Regions from separate parts of the Homo sapiens genome. Here region 2 is linked to region 1. The links are contacts of gene promoters, found by promoter capture Hi-C in blood cells and fetal thymus (Javierre and others, 2016). All regions are on one chromosome and are shown on one strand. The core of a region is centred on a gene start or on the middle of the fragment in contact, and the rest is flanking DNA. Distances in the headings are between cores, read along the strand shown. Region 1 holds the start of NDP-AS1 (NDP antisense RNA 1). Region 2 has its middle 39 kb from the start of KRABD4.

Region 1 (7,278 bases), core at 2,939-5,438:
ACCATGCATTTAAGGAAGCAAAAACATTGATTTGAACCTTTAAATATTATGAGCCACACAATGAGACTAGATGGCTTAGATCCAAAATGAATGAATTTCTTTCTTTTTACAGATCCATAAATATATAAAATTTACTGTTGCAGGCTTGGTTCTCAAGAGTCACATACTGAGTTAAAGTTTGTGGTGCAGGATATTTATTAGGGATCAGCATCCATAGAAGACAAGTGGGGAAGCAAGCTTAGGTAGAAAGAGGAGTGCTCATTAGAGTTGTCCTTCACTGGGCCAAGATAGCCAGGCCTTTATACCCTGGCCTTCGTCAATCACTGGATATGAGCCATTCTGGAAGAGCATGTCCTTGGGCAAGGTGACTCCTTGCAGCTGAGGCCGTTCCTGAAGGGGTTGACAGCTGAGGCAACCCCTTTTTAAGGGGGATCTGGCTGGTGCATCTCTATGTTTGCCATAGTCATCAAATTTAAAATGTTCTGTGCCCCACATGAGAAGACGGCATAGAGCACAGGATGACTTTAATCAATGAGACATTTGAAATTAGATTTATAATTGAATAAAAGAAAAGGCTTGTACTGTCATAGATTTATGGTAGAATATACCAAAAATTAATGTACTGAAGACTTACAGAAAAACAAAAGGCTCTAACATTGATTTGTTGGCATGTGATGCCAATTTCTTATGAAATGCTGTCTTTTAGCAGGTGTTGCTGAGTACCTTTTTGTGCGTTGAAACAAGCAAAGAGTTCCTCCCAGAGTGTAATGATGCAGTGATGGGAAGAACTCTTCCCAGATTCAAGTCTCTCTACTGTTCTAGCTCCTGAAGAGAACAGGTGTGTCTGTCCACCAGGAGGTGTCTGTACCCTAGAGTCATGACGAGTGCAGCATCAGCGGGATATGGCTTCCCTTTCTGATCTAAGCTTTCTCACCCCTACCCACCCCTCAGCCCCAATACATTTGGTGTTTCATCTTGGGCAGCTCTCTTGCTCAAGTGTATAGGTTTCAGTGGTGCCCAAAGAAGTGAACAAAAGCAAACCCATACCTTAATTTATTCAAGGTCACAAAGAAGAAATCAACTTACTCAGTTTCCCAGTCATAACGTGTATGCGACCTGCTCTACCTAACACAAAATAATGTGTTGGGTGGACTAGCAAACACAGGAGTTTAGAAGAAAATCAACCACTATTTCCTCAGGACCTAGAAAGGTTGATTTGTCCTTCATTTTGAGCTTCTGGGGATAGTTCAGGAGCTTATGTGTATTAAGATTTAAGGTATTGGTCTGTAAAACTGGGATGTCAAGAAAATCAATTAAGTTCATAAACCTATCTTCCACTGCAGTACTAACTCATTATTATTAAATGCTTAAAAATGATGAGGGCAAGATCAGTTTACAGGAGGCTTGCCCTCCACCATTATAGATTATCAGACAGATTTCTAAGAGGTAAGCTACTAAAATTATAACATACTTTAATTTTCTCATGCATAGTAAATGGGGAAGCAAATGAACACTTCTTAGACATTCCAGGAGTAATGTTTTTAACTGATCAATGTTTTCATTTGGTTGTCTCTCAATCCTTAGGGGTAGACACCAAAATAAGGCTAAATATGTTTAATTTTTAAAAGATAGAAAACAAATTCCATAGTAACTTAATATCCAGTAATGTCTGAAATCTCTCAGTTCCCAAGGCTATTTTTAGGTCTTTAGGGAAAATATAACTATTTTTCCCCTTTCTCAGCCTTGCTATTCCCCTAAACTTTACCCTGTCTCGCCACACTCTAAGATCCTGAAAGGAGCCAGGCTCCTTTCACTGGTGGCAGGAAGGAAATTAAAGCAGTCAGGGTTGTGAGGAGCAGGAAGCGTGGGTTCGAGTTCCAAATCCAAGAGTGTCTGTGACTTTCAGCCAGTTCCTGGATTTCTACAGGCCTCCATTTGCTCATGTATTTAAGGAGAGAAGAGGATGTATGCTTTCTAATAGTTCTTCCAAGGCCACTGTCCTGTGATTCTTTAATGCTCCAAGTATATTCTGCTCATTTCCATGGGGGAAACTTTGTCAATAGACCATGTAATGGGATTTGAAGGGACTATTTTCTATGGCTTCCAGAGAATTTGGAAGATATGAGTCATATAACTGCCCCCTGTAGTCCCAAATTGGTAGAAGGAAATAAAGACTAGAGTTTAGGGTATAGATTATAGATTCTCAAAGAAAATTGAGTTTTTAAGGCCCAGAAAATACTTTTTAAGGCTGGAAGTATTATTTTTCACTTTTTGATTAGCAACATGAAAGAACAGTCATAAATGTGACCAACAGTTAATACTTTCATTATCAGTTAAAAATTATAACCATTTAACTTTCAGTATTAAATTTAATTCCATTTATGACAAAATTCTTCATGTAATGGTCCAAACTGCCATTTCGCATTTGCCTTCAGAATGAGGAGAACCTCCAATTTAGGAGACTGGCTGGCTGTGTCACCACAGAGATTAAGATCAAGGTCAAGATTTAATAGCATTAGTTTCATTCTGTTTCAAAGCCATGAATACAAGTATAACCCTGCTGGCTTTCTTAAGAATGTGTGAAAGCTGTGCCAAAGAGTGTTCAAAACCATTATCTCTACTGGAAAAGTAATTCACAGGTTGGCTGTACTAACAGTGGGGGAGTTAATATCATCTCTAGTTAACCAGGACAAGGTTGCCCTGGAAACTGAATTGCCAAGTCTGGATTTGTATTGAGATACCTAAGAGGGACATAGCACTGTGCTAACATCATGAGTATTCTTGTAATGCCCAGTAATATCATTCGATCCTGAGCACTGCACAGTCAATGGCACAGAAATGTTGTTAACTATTTGTCCTTCTGCTGGTTCTTCCAACTTCACTTATGGATATTTATTTTCTTCTGAGAAAAGTGAAGAAATTAAAAAGGAGGGGACTCCTCTGTTTCATTCCATAGCTTCCAAGGAAGCCAAAATGCATTAGATTTTGTGTTTATTCAATGGGCTAAAATCTAAAACTCAGAGTCAAATTTAATAAGCCCTCAACACCTTGTTACATTGATTTCAAAAAAATGTTCCCACAATGCATTCTGGAACCCCATTTCTGTCTCCTTTTTTTTTTTTTTGACTCTTTTACTATATCATAGGAGATGCTCAAGCACTAGCTACATGTATGTTCTAGTCCACATGATAGTAGGATATCAAGTAGGAAAAAAATACTTAAACAGTCAAAATTTTGAATATACTCTTTTTATTTCAAAACGTGGGAATAACTCAAAATTTGAGCCTCCAGGACCAAAACACATTTGAACCAAACGTTCAGAAGACAAGCCAGGCCACCATTTTGGCAACATGTTTCACATGGACAAGTGGATATTAGAGAATGATGCCCGTGACACGGCTAAAGCTATAGCACACCCACAAATAGATTCATACTTGGTTGTCTAATTTGCATGCATGAGTATGGTGCATTCTCCATGCCACTAGTACATATATGCCTTTTCCAGAGTCAGTGCAGGATCCGTATTTGTGCAAGTCTTTAAAAGTCTGCTCCCTTACAAAATTTTACCATAATTTATCTGAGACAGCCTTCCTGTGACAAATTCTTTATGCTGCTTTTACTTTCAAAAAGTCATTTCTGAATAATAATTATAGCTGTCAAGAGTTCCAGCATCACATAAAAGAATCTGTTTGTTAGTTATTTTAATGTCAGTTCGCTGGCTGTGAGTAAACGTAGCTAAACATATCCACATGCTTGGTATCTGGACTTTGAAATCGGTAACCTTTAGCAGCAATGGCAACCTTAGACCAAAATGACAAGGTAAAAAAAAACATCAACAATAACAGAAGATGTCCCAGGAAAAGCTGGGCTTTTCTACTTTCCAAAGTAAATTCTTCCCCAGCGTGCACCAAACACTGACAGCCTGACACGCTTGTGTATGAGGGCCCACTTTTTCCCACTAATGCTGAATTGTTGGAAACCCAAACAGCATTGAGAGCCAAGGGGGAAAATGCCTGAATCTGAAAATGAACCAAAAGAAATTGTACCAGAGAAAGGAGATGGGAACTGCAAAGAAGTTCCCAGAGTATCTCTCTCTGTCAACAAGCATGTAGAGTCTTTATTACTAGAATATGCAGAGTCCCGGGAGAATTGTTGCATCCTTTTTTGCCTTAACTCTTTTCTTGCCAGTCTTTCCCTGGCTGGTCGAACTGCCTCTACAGTTGTCCCATCCAGAAGCCACACACAGCAGCGGGCCTCAGGAATTGCATTCCTCGCAGTGACAGGAGAGGATGTACCGGTAGGTGGCAGTGAGTCGCATGCCCCCTGAGCATCGCAGCCGCAGTGCCTTCAGCTTGGAAGTCTGGGGCCGGCAGCAGTGACAGGAGGAACGGAAGGGTTGCTTGAGGACAGTGCTGAACGACACCAAAGGCTCGGAGCGTGACGCCTGGCTGCAGTGCCCCTCGCACCTGGCCAGGAGCACCATCTGGGGAAAGAAAAGGAGGTGGTTACTCTGTGGGCATGCCACAACCTTAGCCAGGTAAAACAGCATCTTTTGAAAGACCCTCACACTCGTTGCCAATTCCTGCTAGATTAGACCAGTGGCTCAATGCATGTTGCATTTTTTTTAAGTCAACACCCAGGCCTCATTCAGATCGATTGAATTAAAATCCTTGGAGATAGGGACCAGGCTTTCATGGTTTTCAAAGCTTCTTAGGTGATTTCTAAGTGTACTGAGGGTTTAGAACCACTGAATGACGCCCATCACTGTGATGTGCGAGTAAAAACCAAAGAACAAAAGAAATTTCTCCTGACAGGTAGTGGTCTACCACTGGCCCAATGCATTGCAATTCTACCAGTAGCAAAATGCAGAAAGTCAATCCAAATTGAAACCAAGAAGTAAATTAAAATGACTACCAAAAAAAAAAAAAAAAAAAAGAAATTGATTTGTGCAGGAAATAGCTAAAGAACAGGAATATAGTTTCTGAATAAGAAAATAGGATAGCCTGAGTAATGCTTAGGAAGAAATATTCTGGGTGCTGCAATTTGGGACAAGAGAATGAAGTAGAGACAGGGCATGTCTGGGGCCCTGAAATCACACTTCTGGGTTTATATGTTGAAGGAGCCTGGGATTTATGTAATTGCATCCGCATCTTCAGAGTCATTTGCGGCAAATATTAGGATGTACCCATTCTGATAATCTCTATTTCCAAAGATTGGGCTGGAATAACGGAGGCTATGTGTTCTTTATAGTAGCTCTTAATCTGGCTTTAGCAAACAGACACCTTTAAGAATCTGATGAAAACTACCAAAGTTATCCCCAGAAAAATGTACATAAGCACACACACAATTTGCATACAGCTTAACGGAATGGAAAAAAGGATCATTTATGTATCCCATACAAAACTCCTGGTATCCTGGGAGTGGGAGTAATAGGTGGGTAGGGTGGGACAGCTTGACTCATTAAGCTGCATAATCCTAATATCAAGGTGGGGAGGGGAATGGAGAATCTGAGATTATTGGTCCCATGGTTATGTAAGAGGTTTTGCTTGGTGAATTTCATGTTAAGTGATGGAGAAAAAAATCCCCTGGGCCAGGTGTATTGTCTCATGCCTATAATCCCAACACTTTGGAGTCTGAGGCAGGAGGATCACTTGACCCCAGGAGTTTGAGACCAGCCTGGGCAACATAGCATGACCGTGTCTCTAAAAAAAAAAATAAAAAGTTAACCAGGCGTGGTGATGTGCACCTGTAGTCCCAGCTACTTTGGCAGCTGAGGCAGGAGGATCACTTGAACCCAGGAATTAGAGGCTGCAGGAAGCTATGATCAAGCCACTGTACTCCAGCATGAGTGACAGAGCAAGGCCCTGTCTCAAAAAGAAAAGAAAAGAAAAGAAAAATTTGTCCTATAATTCCAGAACCAACAGCAAGATCATAAAAAGTGAAACTGTTCAAATGAAAGATTAAAAGATACATATATATGCATGAAACCTTTTGACGTTTACCTTACAATATTGTAGGAATTCGCAGTTATTATTAAAGACTCACCAGCTATTATCTCTGACATCATCCTGTAGGGCAGAATTAAACACCCAAGGTTTACAAGAAAAAAATAGCCAGTCCATCTTTCCAAAAGGGAGAAAAGATGAATTCTGGTAATTATAGATTATTGGCATAGTTATCTGAGAATATACTGGGGCTAAATCCAACAATCACTTAGCAACCACCAAGGCAATATGAAATACTAGAAAAAAAAAACAGCAGGGCTTAGGGAAGAATAAGTTGGACTAGACCAGTGAATTTATTTTCTCTGAATGATCGCAGAGGCAGAGAGAAAATAGCAGCTGTAAGCTGTTTTGATTTTTTTAAAGCTTTTGATTCTATCCTACCTGCTCTTCATTTTGACAGGCAAAGTAAACTATCAGAAATGATTGTTTGTTTGTTTTGTTTTGTTTTTAGAGACAGAGTCTTGCTATGTTGTCCAGGCTGCAGTGCAGTGGTTATTCACAGGCATGATCATAGCACACTACAGCCTTAAACTCCTGAGCTCAAGGGATCCTCCTGCCTCAGCCTCCTGTGTAGCCAGGACTACAGGCATGTACCACTGTGCCTGGCTCTGAAATGGGTTTTGAGAGACTATGCCATAGGTCAGTAGTACACAGGCTAGTCCCTAATTCCCACCCCCATTTCTCTAATGAGAGAGAGAGTCCAAGATCTTCCTTAGTCTGTTCTCCCCCCATCTCCCTGTATGTGGGAAGAGCTGCTTGATACCTCACCTTGGAGTAGTGTTAAATTTGCTAATCTCTCATCTAGATCATCTATTAGGTTGACTAAGCAGTTATTCACAGAGTCACCTTCCGTGATGGAGTCTTCAGAGGTGCAGTTTCAGTCTGGGTGGACAAAGTAAATCTGTGCCAACGAACTTAACTCAGAAGGGCCAACAATGATATGGGACATAATATCCAAGTGATGTATACACAGGTGAACCAAACGTAGGCCTAACTGACTGGGCCATTAGCACTGTCCATAAAATGACCAAGTCAACAGCGTAGGGCCATTTGTAAATGAGCTCATCTGATTGCAATCTCACTAAAAGTTTTCAGGATGTCCAGCTCCACCCCCAGCCCACTCTGAAGGACAAGAACTCCAGGCACTGAAGGACGTGGGGCCACCTCCAATGGGCTGGGCCCCTCTTCCTTGGGAGCTGGACTGTTTGTGCAAGAAGAATGCACAGACATGTACAATAAATGCCTTCAGTAGTTCAGAATAAAATCCAAAATC
Region 2 (7,278 bases), core at 1,476-3,975, 2.5 Mb after region 1:
CATTACGGAAGCTTAAATGTTTTGAAATGCTAGTGCAAAAAAATCATACACTTTCCCAAGGTAATCTGAGATTCAAGAGGAAGTTATTTGAATTGGTACAGATTCTGATTTTGATATACCTATGGCCTTACACCATAGGTCATTGTTTCTCTGGCTATATTCTCCCTCCCACAATAAACCGTGGAATGTTCCCATCCATCATTCAAATTTTAAAATAATCAATTTATAAACCCAGTAAATAGGTTATGAACCTGAGAACCCCTATAAGTTCCAAATAAATGAAATGATACCAGCCTACACTCAATGAAGGCCAAATAAAATTATGAGCTTTCTGTTTTCTCCTGGTCTAGTCTCATGTGACAGCAGAGAGAAAGGGAAAGAAACCGAACAGTTTTTCATCATGTGCCCCTACCAATTCCCTTCCTAACTGGTGTCGAATCAAGCATAGGGGGGTATCATTCAAGGTGACACTTACTGATTCCCTTTCCTTCTGCTTAGGGGCCAGCACATGCAGCAGCCTGAAACCTGACCTCAGACACTGGTCTCCTATTTGACCCATGAACCTAGCCAGGGACAGTTCGGTTACACACATTCATGAATCGTGCGGCTATCGCTTTCCCTGTCACAGCTGGTTAACCTCGGGGAATTACCATGGGAACAGTCTTGTCCCACCAAGCACTCATGAGATCCAGCATAGATACTCTGTACCTGCCCCAATTGAATTTCTGGGAAAGTGTGTCTCTTTTCTCCCCCAGCCTCTGTCTCAGTGACAGAGACACTGAGTCTTTTTGTGTGCCCCCTATGGACCCTGAGTCTTGCACTTCTTTAATGAATTCCAAACCCAAGAAACTTATTTCCAAGCTTTCTAAGTGTTTAGATTTGAACTGGGATCTTTGAAACTTAGAGGTTTCCTCATTATATAGGGTTAGGAATTCCAAATATGTTAACCTGGGTGTATTACAGGGGTAACTCCAACACAGAGAAAAGGAGCTTCCTGGATGCCAGTGAACCCAGGGTCATGCCAATGGCTTTAGCATGCTACGGTCCCCTTCTAGAAATTCTAGTGTTGCTTCTAGAGAGCTGCCAGGGCAATAGAAGACCCTGACAATCTATGGTTCCCTGACATTGCCTGGGTCTGGAAATACTCGGCAAACTTGAAGTCTTTTGTTGTTTGAGTTAAGAATATGCTTGGAAAAGTGCATCATTCAGCTCTCAAACTAAGTGATGTAGGCTCTAAATAGCTCCCATGACAGTCTGTCTCAGAAAAGAATGCATTTCACAGAAATATTCAGGGACTCCATTTTTTAAAGAGTTCTTGTAAGCCAGTAAGAACTGAGCATATAAGATATTAGAAAAAAAAAAGGCATGGAAAAAGCTCCTTTAAAAGGCACTCCTGGAAACTTAATGTAATGCCCTTAAAAAATTACTGCCATCCACTGCAACCAAGGATTTGCTGGAGAAGAGGTCAGGCTTTGGGGGAACTTCAATTCATTTTAGAAACAAAACACAAACATCAATATCAGTGGCATAGATATTTACTTAAGCTCATTGGCATTAATTGGTATACCTTTACTGAGATTTAAATGCCCACAACAAATACTCAATGGCAGCTTTCTCAGCAAGTGGGACCAAGTAGATCTTTGGGAAACCAGCTACTGCTGTCACACTCAAGGCAATTCTGGAAGACTCTGTCAAAAACAGAGCACATTGGGCCAGGCCCTGTGGCTCACACCAGTAATCCCAGCACTGTGAGAGGCCAAGGCGGGTGGATCACTTGAGGTCAGGAGTTTGAGACCATCCTGGCCAACATGGTGAAACCCCATCTCTACTAAAAATACAAAAATTAGCTGGGCTTGGTGTGCGCACCTGTAATCCCAGCTACTCGGGAGGCTGAGGCAGGAGAATCATTTGAACCCGGGAGGTGGAGGTTGCAGTTAGCGGAGATCGCGCCACTGCACTCCAGCCTGTCTCAAAAAAAAAAAAAAAAAAAAAAAAAAGAGTGCATTGGTCAGGCCATATCTGAATTCACAGACTTTCACTGCTACCTGGATCAACAAGGTTTTTTAGAAATCAGAAACACAAATCCAGGTCAGGAGGAGAGTTCTTTGCCTATAAAGACAACTGTTTTTCCAACAACTGCAGGTCACCAGGGATGGTGGACGATGAAGGGCTATGAACTTCACTGGAATTTCACAGAGAAGACAGCAATCAAAATAATTTTCTTCTCCCACAACACAGACTTTGAGAGCACTATCTTGCTACTGACTCTTGGCTGGGTGGTGGCTCATGCCTGTAATCTCAGCACTTTGGGAGGCCGAGATGGGTGGATCACGAGGTCAGGAGATCGAGACCATCTCGGCCAACATGGTGAAACCACATCTCTACTTAAAAAATACAAAAATTAGCTGGGCATAGTGGCGTGCGCCTGTAGTCCCAGCTACTCAGGAGGCTGAGGCAAGAGAATCGCTTGAACCCGGGAGGCAGAGGTTGCAGTGAGCCAAGATCGCACCATTGTACTCCAGTCTGGTGACAGAGCGAGACTCCGTCAAAAAAAAAAAAGAACACTATCTTGCCACTGACTCTTAAAATGCTAGAGAAGTTGGGACAATAGTTCATGGGTAGGGATGAGGTTTGAGAGGACAAAAAGAAGATATGGGTACAGATAGCAGGACAAACAAACAAACAAAAAAAAGCATTACTTATTCCAGAAACCATGTTCACTTCTGTCAGGTTTCTCAACTCCAAAGCTAAGCATGTGAAAATTCATTCAAAAGTAGAAAATGACCTATTCCCCACAAGATCATAAATTCCAGGAAATGCCAGGCGCTTTGATTATTATGGCCCATATGCCACAAATTCATTAAAACACAGACCTGTTTAAGTTACAGGAAGCACAGCTTTGTGGAATGAGCACCAGACTGAGTTCTGGCTTGACTGTTCTCTTTTAAGTGATGCTAGGCGATTTGCTTAATCTTTCTCTGAATTCTAACTCTCCAACTGTAAGGAGAAAGAGAGACAGCGGAGAGAAGAAGGCAGGAAAAACTTTCTCCATTTCTCTTGCTTATCATTGAAGGATTCTGTGAGAATTGACGAATAGTATCCTTAGAACACTGAGAGGCTTCTGGAAGCCATTCACATCTTAATGCCACTAACAGCTGCTGCTGATGTGAAGGCATCTTTCAGAGCCGCACGCATGGAGCTTGGTGCATATCCCCATGGGACCCCACAGTGCCTGGGATATCCACAGAGGTTCATACTACACACTTCCTTCTTCAGCAAGTCCCACTTGTAAATGATGGTTCATTGGTATTCTCTGATGTTCCTTGTGTAGGAGGTAGAAGCTGACTGCTTATTTTTAAAATAATTTCTTAAGAGAGATTAAAAAAAAATCAAAGCATTTTAACTGGGGAAAGGAAGGGAAAGGAAACATCTCATTCAGGGATAAATGAATTGATTCATTTGCTCACTCCACAAACTTTTCTGGAGCAGCTCCAATGTGCCAGAAACTCTGCTGGCCTCTACGGATTCAAGGCCGAATGAGGCAGGGCTCTGAGCACAGGGAGCTTGTGGTTTCATGGGAGAGGAAGATGACCAAGCCTGTGATCCTAACAATGTGCTGAGGATAAGACCATGTGCTTACAAGAGCCCATTTTGGCTATATCTAAACTGTTGTGGGGTTTCTAGAAGAGCATGTCATGAGCTGGATTGGAAAGACATATAGGAATTAGACTGAGAAGAAGGAAAGGGTATTCCAGGCAGAAGGACGAGCATCTGCAAACATAGGCATGAAATAGCTTTCCTACATAGAGAAATGGTAAATGAGATGATGTATGAGGATTGCTTAAGAAAGAGTGGGCATTCAACAAATGTTGAAATGAATAGGCAGGGGGCATCAGTGAGAGGCCTAAAGAGCCAGGCAGCTGGTGGTGCCAGCCTAAGTGCCTCACCTCATCCATGAGGCCCTGATTAGGGCTGATTAGGCTGTTAGGGGAAGAGGGAGGAGGGATGGAGTGGTATACCCAGGATCGCAATCTTGCCACACCTGTGCTCACCTTCCATCCTCAAAATTCCATTTGCAGTTTCTGCTGCAGCACCACACAGGTAAAGAGAAAGTGACTGTGTCGGATATGCTTTTCTCAGAATCACTGATTTGACAAGGTGCTTGTCTCTAAATTCATGACTGTAGAACTGCAGAAAATGTGTAGGACTGCTAGACAATGTGAACACTCTTAGCTAAAGAGATACAGCCTTCCCTGGATACCGTGGTCTGAGATCTTAGAGAATGTGTTTTGGTAAGTTGGAGCAGTTATCTTCCAAAAAACACTAAGGATAACCAACGTTTACTAAGCTATCATTAGATGCCAGGCCCTATGATTGTCAGAGGATATCCTGATAGCTAAGAAATGACCTGTGAGAAACTAGCCATTAGAAACACAAAAAGAGCAAGCCCTTGCCAACTTCTGATTAGCACGTGAGATTTCTTTGTTAGTATTTTAAAGATATTCATTTCCCCCAGTTCGGCAATATGGAAGAGACATTTAGACTAAAGAATAAACGTGGAAAATCTTTTAGCACAAATTTCTGGAGCTCAAGCTTGGAAAAGCAGGTGTCTGCTGCCCCCATGTGGCCACAGTCATCTTTTGCTTTCAGCAGTCACATGAAAGTGCATTTCATACACCAACCACGTAGAAGTGTAAAATTAAGACTTTTGGTGGAAAAGACTACAGTCTTGTGTAAGAGTTTTCTCCTTTTCCATGTCTCCAGGGAAATTCTATGATAAAAACTGAAAAATTAAAAAATTTCTCCGGAACGGCCTAGGAGATCCCAGTGGTAAACTCTGGTTTCTCCTTGTTAAATTGAAGGCCTTTGTCTTGGCATTCTGAACTCCATGAATTTCTGAAATGTACAAACTCTTAAAACAGTTCATTTCCAGGAATTCAGTAAACCAATTCTGGAAGCTATTTCAACTAAAGTCTTATCCATGCGCTGTGACAATTGTGAAGAATTTCAACCAAATTTCAAATTGGTAATTTTCAGGTCTTTTTCAACTATCCTCTCCACCCTACACACACTCCTTAAAAATCTGTCATGTAATAATCTTAGCCAAGCAAATACATTTGTTCTTCTCTACACATAGGCTAACAACTACTCAATCAAATTCTTCCCCCATATTTATTTGCCTTTTCTGGAACATTTACTTTATTCTCTTCACACCACAAATTCCTTCTACTATAAGAAATTTCTACCCAGAAATTAATGTTTTCTGCAAGGAGTTCCCAGACTCCACTCAGAAAACTTTGTCAAGCCAATGATTTCAGCATCTTCCACTTGGAGGAAAAAAAAAAAAAACAGGGACACAAATAGAAAGAGAGAAAGAGAGAGAATGACCAGGAAGCCTTTATTATTTACATATTTGCACATAAACTATTCAGAAGCAAGAATCGCATGTAGTCTTTCTAATTTTGCCTTCTCTTACATTATATATATATATATAATATATATATATTTTTAAAATTATTATTATACTTTAAGTTTTAGGATACATGTGCACAATGTGCAGGTTTGTAACATATGTATACATGTGCCATGTTGGTGTGCTGCACCCATTAACTCGTCATTTAGCATTAGGTATATCTCCCAATGCTATCTCCCTCCCCCCTCCCCCCACCCCACAACAAGCCCCAGTGTGTGATGTTCCCCTTCCTGTGTCCATGTGTTCTCATTGTTCAATTCCCACCTATGAGTGAGAACATGTGGTGTTTGGTTTTTTGTCCTTGTGATAGTTTGCTGAGAATGATGGTTTCCAGCTTCACCCATGTCCCTACAAAGGACATGAACTCATCATTTTTTATGGCTGCATAGTATTCCATGGTGTATATGTGCCACATTTTCTTAATCCAGTCTGTCATTGTTGGACATTTGGGTTGGTTCCAAGTCTTTGCTATTGTGAATAGTGCCGCAATAAACGTATGTGTGCATATGTCTTTATAGCAGCATGATTTATAATCCTTTGGGTATATACCCAGTAATGGGATGGCTGGGTCAAATGGTATATCTAGTTCTAGATCCCTGAGGAATCGCCACACTGACTTCCACAATGGTTGAACTAGTTTACAGTCCCACCAACAGTGTAAAAATGTTCCTATTTCTCCACATCCTTTCCAGCACCTGTTGTTTCCTGACTTTTTAATGATCGCCATTCTAACTGGTGTGAGATGGTATCTCATTGTGGTTTTGATTTGCATTTCTCTGATGGCCAGTGATGATGAGCATTTTTTCATGTGTCTTTTGGCTGCATAAATGTCTTCTTTTGAGAAGTGCCTGTTCATATCCTTCACCCACTTTTTGATGGGGTTGTTTGTTTTTTTCTTGTAAATTTGAGTTCATTGTAGATTCTGGATATTAGCCCTTTGTCAGATGAGTAGCTTGCAAAAATTTTCTCCCATTCTGTAGGTTGCCTGTTCACTCTGATGGTGGTTTCTTTTGCTGTGCAGAAGCTCTTTAGTTTAATTAGATCCCATTTGTCAATTTTGGCTTTCGTTGCCATTGCTTTTGGTGTTTTAGACATGAAGTCCTTGCCCATGCCTGTGTCCTGAATGGTATAGCCTAGGTTTTCTTCTAGGGTTTTTATAGTTTTAGGTCTAACATGTAAGTCTTTAATCCATCATGAATTAATTTTTGTATAAGGTGTAAGGAAGGGATCCAGTTTCAGCTTTCTACATATAACCAGCTAGTTTTCCCAGCACCATTTATTAAATAGGGAATCCTTTCCCCATTGCTTGTTTTTCTCAGGTTTGTCAAAGATCAGATAGTTGTAGATATGCGGCATTATTTCTGAGGGCTCTGTTCTGTTCCATTGCTCTTTATCTCTGTTTTGGTACCAGTACCATGCTGTTTTGGTTACTGTAGCCTTGTAGTATAGTAGTTTGAAGTCAGGTAGCATGATGCCTCCAGCTTTGTTCTTTTGGCTTAGGATTGACTTGGCGATGCGGGCTCTTTTTTGGTTCCATATGAACTTTAAAGTAGTTTTTTCCAATTCTGTGAAGAAAGTCATTGGTAGCTTGATGGGGATGGCAATGAATCTATAAATTACCTTGGGCAGTATGGCCATTTTCACGATATTGATTCTTCCTACCCATGAGCATGGAATTTCTTCCATTTGTTTGTATCCTCTTTTATTTCACTGAGCAGTGGTTTGTAGTTCTCCTTGAAGAGGTCCTTCACATCCCTTGTAAGTTGGATTCCTAGGTATTTTATTCTCTTTGACGCAACTGTGAA

The links. Contacts are between HindIII fragments. The CHiCAGO score rates a contact against its expected background, and 5 or more counts as called.
Region 2: a fragment that was not itself captured here is called in contact with the fragment with the promoter of NDP-AS1 in region 1 in 4 of 17 cell types (total B cells, total CD8 T cells, fetal thymus and 1 more); the score reaches 9.0 in total B cells.

Annotation. Positions count from the first base shown.
Region 1 is chrX:43,945,544-43,952,821 of GRCh38, forward strand. NDP-AS1 (NDP antisense RNA 1) reads left to right here and starts at 4,189. Exons shown (of 6, transcript NR_046631.1): 1 at 4,189-4,537. It overlaps NDP (norrin cystine knot growth factor NDP), which reads right to left. Exons shown (of 3, transcript NM_000266.4): 3 at 3,233-4,483. The coding sequence ends at 4,256. RefSeq lists enhancers at 3,866-4,383, 4,384-4,900. The HindIII fragment of the contact is 3,781 bases long and covers 924-4,704 here.
Region 2 is chrX:46,404,381-46,411,658 of GRCh38, forward strand. No RefSeq gene overlaps it. Among named protein-coding and RNA genes, the nearest start is that of KRABD4, 39 kb to the right of the region's middle. The HindIII fragment of the contact is 3,732 bases long and covers 860-4,591 here.